Linked DNA regions of Homo sapiens: region 2 is linked to region 1. The links are contacts of gene promoters, found by promoter capture Hi-C in human tissues and cell types (Jung and others, 2019). All regions are on one chromosome and are shown on one strand. The core of a region is centred on a gene start or on the middle of the fragment in contact, and the rest is flanking DNA. Distances in the headings are between cores, read along the strand shown.

What was found. The method cuts DNA at HindIII sites, captures the fragments that hold promoters and counts their contacts. A contact is called where the count stands out against the background at its distance.
Region 2: a fragment that was not itself captured here is called in contact with the fragment with the promoter of LGR6 in region 1 in 3 of the 25 tissues and cell types used here (IMR-90 fibroblasts, aorta and heart right ventricle).

The regions. Positions count from the first base shown.
Region 1 is chr1:202,192,305-202,195,213 of GRCh38, reverse strand. It overlaps LGR6 (leucine rich repeat containing G protein-coupled receptor 6), which reads right to left and starts at 1,415. Exons shown (of 18, transcript NM_001017403.2): 1 at 1,013-1,415. The coding sequence starts at 1,224. RefSeq lists enhancers at 2,282-2,331, 2,026-2,829. The HindIII fragment of the contact is 27,919 bases long and covers 1-2,909 here.
Region 2 is chr1:202,437,949-202,440,857 of GRCh38, reverse strand. It overlaps PPP1R12B (protein phosphatase 1 regulatory subunit 12B), which reads right to left. Exons shown (of 24, transcript NM_002481.4): 10 at 2,834-2,909; 11 at 70-152. It also overlaps the pseudogene LOC100420423. Among named protein-coding and RNA genes, the nearest start is that of PPP1R12B, 91 kb to the right of the region's middle. The HindIII fragment of the contact is 5,580 bases long and covers 1-2,909 here.

The DNA of each region.
Region 1 (2,909 bases), core at 166-2,665:
ACTCTGGGATCCTAGCCCTCAGCAGAAGGCCCCACCAGGCTTTCCCACCTGCTCCCAGCTCCTCTGAGGAAGTTGATAGAGCCTGCAGAGCTGGGCTGGAGGAGGTTTCCTTGCCCCAGAGCGGGGCTGGGGGTGCAGGTGGGTGGCCTGGAATGTGCTCTCTCACCCTCCTCCTGCCCAGGTGGTGAGCAGCCAGAGCCCCCAGCCCTCCAGCTCTGAGGGGAAGCTCCCATGAGCCAGACAGACAGGACAGCTGCCCCCAGTAGGGTCCCCTTCACGCGCCATCTCACCCCAACTCAGACGCTAAAAATGGTTCTCTGGTTTTCAGCCTCGGCGCCTGCCCACAAATTAGTGTCTCCAACACAGCCTCTTGGGACATGACTTTAGGGAGGCCCCTGGGGGAGCCAGGAGGCCCCAGTGAAGGGAGATGGTGCTGGCAGAGTCCCTTTCTGAGGAGACAAGAGTGGATAAGGCCCCCCTCCCAGCTTCTAGGAAACCCGCCCCCCCCGCCCCCACGAAGGCCACCCAGCCTCAGTGTGACAGCCCTGTTGTCCTCACCATGGCAGAAGAACAGACATTATTTCCACCCTACTGGGGCACGCTCCCCTCACCTCCACCTCCAGTTCTGTCAGCTTTACCCTCAGCCACCATCCCGGGCACTGCTCTGCTAGAAGAGAATGCAGCAACAGGAGATGGAGCAGCCAGCCCCGCGCCCTCCCGCTCAGGGTCCAGAACCCACCTCGCCAAGCCTGGGCTCCCATAGTCAGCCCACAAGCACGGAGGCCAATGGGGAAGCCAAGTCAGGGAAGCCCGGTCTCCCTGCTCGCCTGGTATTTAGTCTCAGACTCTTCTCCCCTCCCCAGTCCCGCAACGGTCAACTTGGAAGGGGGCAAACCCTCTCCGGGATGCCCATGCCCCAGGGCACCAAGCAAGCAGGTGCCCTGCTGAGGCCGGGACTGGGCGCTAGCCAGCAGCCCGCAGGACCAGGCGGGGACAGGCGGGCAGTACTCACAGGTAAGCCGTCAGGGGGTCCAGGTCCCCCGGAACGGCGGACAGCCCGAGCTCAGAGCAGTCGGCAGACAGCATGATGCCGTCCTCCTGGCAGTGGCAGGGGGCCGGGCAGGCGGTGGGCCCCGGGCCGGGCTGGGGGGCGCCGCCGGCCCTCCGGGAAGCGCACAGCGCGGCGCAAAGCCATAGCGCCCGGAGCCCCGGCGGGCTGGGCATCTCGGCGGTCGGGCTACTGGGGCACCTGGCGGCCGGGCGCGGACGCACGGCGCGATGGCCGCAGCTGCTTCCTCCCGGTCCCGGCGGGCTGCACCGTCGGTGGGGACCGCCCCAGGGGCTCTATTGGGCGGCGGCGGCGGCGGTGGGAGCGCCGGGACGGTGCAGTCAGAGAGGGGCAGGCATTGTTGAGTGATCTTCGTTATTCAGTTTCACAGGCTGGGCTTGGCAAGGGAGGGAGACCCAGCCGGAGGAGGAGTCAAGGAAACTTTCTACACTGCGGCTCGCTCCTCTTCCCTCCTTCCTTCGGAGCTGGCAGGAATTTCATCCAGGAAAGAAAAAAAAAAAAGGAAGAAAGCAAAGAAACCCAAGCGAGCAAAGCTCAGCCCGTCAGAGACCTGCATTTGTTTGGATAGGGTGTCCCAGGGCCTTGGCCGCAGGGCTGGGGACCCTCTTGCCTTTGGGGACAGCCACGAGGTCACATGGGACCCAGAGGAGGTCTCTGAAAGAGGCCTTGGGGCTCCCATTGCCCCTCATGCCTCCACCACGTTTCACACTGCAGGAAACTGAGACCCAAGAGGCAAAATGATTTGTTCAAGGTGACACAGCTGATGGGACATCCCCAGAGCTGGAACTCGTCCACCCTCCCTGGCCTGTCTGCTAGGACAGGAGAGAGGGGAGTGAGGGGCTACCCTGGAAGAGGCCAGGCTGCGGAGGGTTCCACTGCAGGCTGGGATGACCCGACGGTGGGCAACCAGGAGCAGTCTCCTCACTGAGAGGCCGGGCCTTGACTCCAAAGAAACGGGTGTGGAGTTACACCCGCTGAGTGCACCCTGGGTGGAAATGCACTCCTGCAGCCTCTGTCAGGTTTACGGCCTGGGGACCACCTTGATCCCTGCTCCCAGGACCTCGGGAGTCTGAGGGACTGTGGGCAGCTCAGCTGGTTGTCAGAGCCCACCTCAAAGTAAGCGGATTGGTGCCACCTGGAGGCCGGGTGCTGCACCTGCAGCTCAGCCACCCTGAGGCTGGAATCCCACCAAGTGGCTGACCTGGGCCGGCCCCAGAGCCCTGGAGAGCAAAGGGCATGGTGGTTAAAACTGAGGTCAATCCCTGTTCTCTCCTTAGACCATAGTGAGCTGGCTGTGCTTCCTTCATGCAGCCTCTTGCTCTCTCTGGTCTCTCCCATGCTGAGCCAAGCCCCCGCGCAGAGCTAGAGCAGGCTGTGGGCCCCCCTCCTTCCTTTTTTTGCCCTATCTCCCCATGGTCCAGCCAGAGGGTATACTAGAAACCTGGGACCTCAGAGGCATCCAGGATTTCTTCCACCCTGTCTTTCCACATGCCAGGATCCTCTCATCAACACCTCTCCACTCTCCCAATAACCTCCCAGGGCTAGAGGGGCTGCATAGCTGGACCAAGAAATGAGCAGACCTTGACCCTAGGCCTCCAGTTGGTGCCATGGCGCTGAAAGTAGAAGACGAGCCTCCGCTCTCGCTCTCCCTCTCCCTCTCCCCTCTTTCCACGGTCTCCCTCTGATGCCGAGCCGAAGCTGGACTGTACTGCTGCCATCTCGGCTCACTGCAACCTCCCTGCCTGATTCTCCTGCCTCAGCCTGCCGAGTGCCTGCAATTGCAGGCGCATGCCGCCACGCCTGACTGGTTTTCGTATTTTTTGGGTGGAGACGGGGTTTC
Region 2 (2,909 bases), core at 121-2,620, 250 kb before region 1:
CCCAGGAGATGACTATGTCCAGTAGACCTAAGAGGATGAGGACCATCTTTTGGCTGGTTTTAGGATTACCTGTTCTCCTTTTCTTCAATATCACTTGTGCTGTTGAGCTTCCGGGGTGCTAGTGAACTAATATAGCTTTTGTTTTCTCTCTCCTGTAAAATAAAAACAAGTAAAGCACAAGAAAGGTACAATACTGGCACAGCATAAAACATTTTGAGTAAAAAAGCAGAACTTAATATACCTATATCATCTTATTTCTGGATCCAACACTAATTCTATTTTGAGTGGTATTTACAAAAGGTTAGCTTTCAAAAGCTTATTCCTAACTTTCTTCCATTAAAAAACAGTATGAAGGGAAATAATTCTCATGGGAAAGTCAGGATGAGTAAATAAAGAAAACAGCAGCACAAATTATGCAAAGCAGCACCTCTGTCAAGAGAGGAGGAAAGCCTTTGAAGACACAAACAGAAAGCTCCACTCTAATATTCTTGATGAAATAAGATTTATGTAGTCCCCAATAGTCCCCAGTACATCTTTTCCTTGAAATACAGCTTCCTTAGGAATATGTACAATAGTATGCTGCAGAGTTAATTCAACCAATATGCCTCATCTCTTTCAGTAGTCTCCAGAGATATAAAGCAAGAGGACTGTGATTACAAGGAAGATGTGACCCCAGAGAAAAGCACAAAGAGAGTCCTATAAAATCTGGAACTAAAAAGTGAAGAAAATAAAAATTTACTAATCTTGAATGAATACACAAACTATGTGTGAAGTTAGCCTAACCACATTTTCCATATTAATGAAAGAATGACAAGTTAAAAATTTTTTTTTTCTAAGTACTAATTTGCCTGAGCTTAATTTGGACTCAAAGCCCAGAGAACCTCTTAGGCCATACTGAATTTTTTTTTTTTTTTGCAGGGTAGGAGGCTTTATTACACTGTGGCAGGAAGTGAGCCTAGACAGTGTGGGGCAAGCAGGGCAGGAGGGGCTGTCCCCAAACCTGTTGAGGAGAAACTGAGGCTGGCCCCAGTGGAGACCTAGCCCAGCAGGAGAAGGGGAGTGGGGAGGAAAGTGGGTCTGAAGGAATGAGGTCCCCCTCACTCTGCGCATTCCTCCTAGAGGGCCTCAGTCCCTCCTGCTGGCTGGGCTGCACAACCCCCAGTCCTTGCTGCCTCCAACTTGGAGAAGGGGGCCGGACCAGGAAGGGCAGTGGACAGGGAGCCTGGGGGAGTTATGGAGCACAGGGCAGGGTCCATGGTGTACAGAGGGGGTGGCGGCCACCTGGGTGGTCAGTTCCTGGCAGGAGTGACCACAGAGAGCGCCACACCCCCCAAGGCAACAGCAGTCGCCCCAAACAGCCACTTCCATGGGCTGGACCAGGCACCCTTGCCGGGGCACTTGGCGGGCAGCCAGCTGGGGTCGCCCAGCATTTTCCAGTACAGGGCGGTCTCCGTGCTCCGCTGTGCCGCGTGCTTCTTCACCAGCTTCAAGAGTTCTGCGTGGATCGTCTTGTTGGAAGGTTCCAGCTTCAGGGCTGCCCTCAGGATGGAGATGGCCTCACTGTACTCACCCTGCTGGGCCAGTATCTTGCCTCTGTGGAGGACAGCCTTGATATTGTCTGGATGGTGCTCCAACGAGGCTGCAGGAGCACAGGGCTGCGCAGTAGTGGTCGAGCTTCAGCTGCGAGGCCGCCAGGTTGTTCAGACACTTCACCTTCAACTACAGGAGCTGCTCCTCCTCCTCGAACGTCATGTCCACTTTGGCGCTGGAGGTGATGGTCTTGATGGCAAGGTCATAGGAGTTGGCGGCCAGGATGAAGTCCGCCCACTGGTAGTGGGCACTGCCGCACTCCTGCTTCCGGTTGGCCAGGGCCATGCGCTCCTGCCCTGTGAGCATCTCCAGGTCAGGCCAGTCCACGGCCGTCTTCGGGGTCACCTCCAGGCACAGGGCCGCGTGCGGTGGATGTATGGGCTCCTGCCCTGGGGGCTATAGCAGTAGATGGAGTCAGCAGTGACCATGGCCGTCTCCCCCACGTCCGTGAGTTAGACACTAAGATCCAGGGCCTGGATGACGTCACAGTTGTTCAAGGTGAACACCAGCTCCCACATGCTGTTCTCTCACGACGTCTGCAAAATGCACGGTAACCACCTGGCCCTTGACTGGGCGGCTTGAACCCGGCGGCCCTGGGACAAGCGTCTTCTTCCTCAACAGCTGCTTCCGGGGCCAGGGACGGGGCGGGCTCAGGCTCCATGGCAGCGAGGAACTCTAGGGCCAATGTCCCAGGCTGTTCAGCCTCTTCCACCGGGGGCTGTCCCATGCCCAGCGGGGGCAGCTCTTTCAGGTCATCTTCCTCCTCGCCCTCTGCATCCTCCACCCCATCCAGCACCTTGAAGTCCTCAAGCGGTGGGACCCTGGCAGGAGGCGGGGGCAGAGGGCTTAGAGGGTTCAGCACACGAAGCCATGCCGCTGGGGGGACGGGAATTGGCCCTCTGGATCCAGGACCCCTACCTGGGGTCCTGTGCCCCCCTCCGCCATACTGAAATTTTTATGTTGCTGATCCATTTTTTGCTTTAGGTAAGGGGGCAAGGAAGATTGAACAAACCAAAAGGAAAAGCTATTTTTAAAGCTTTTTTATTTTCTTTTTTGGTCAAGCAAACAATAGCAAGCAAATAGCTACTTGAATAAACTATCAGTGTGCCTCTCTCTCTTTAAAGACTTTGCATTTCCAAAATCAACTTAAGGACTAGAAAATATTTTCATTTGTTCCTAAGATTGAATTTTCATGGAAAAAAAAAACTGCCTTGGAATTCCCCCATACCCTCCCAAACTGCACCTTATCTTTGTTGTCCAGTAGAGCAGAAATCCGAGGGCTTGAAGAGGAGCGATAGATGGAAGAGCCTCGGTCCCTT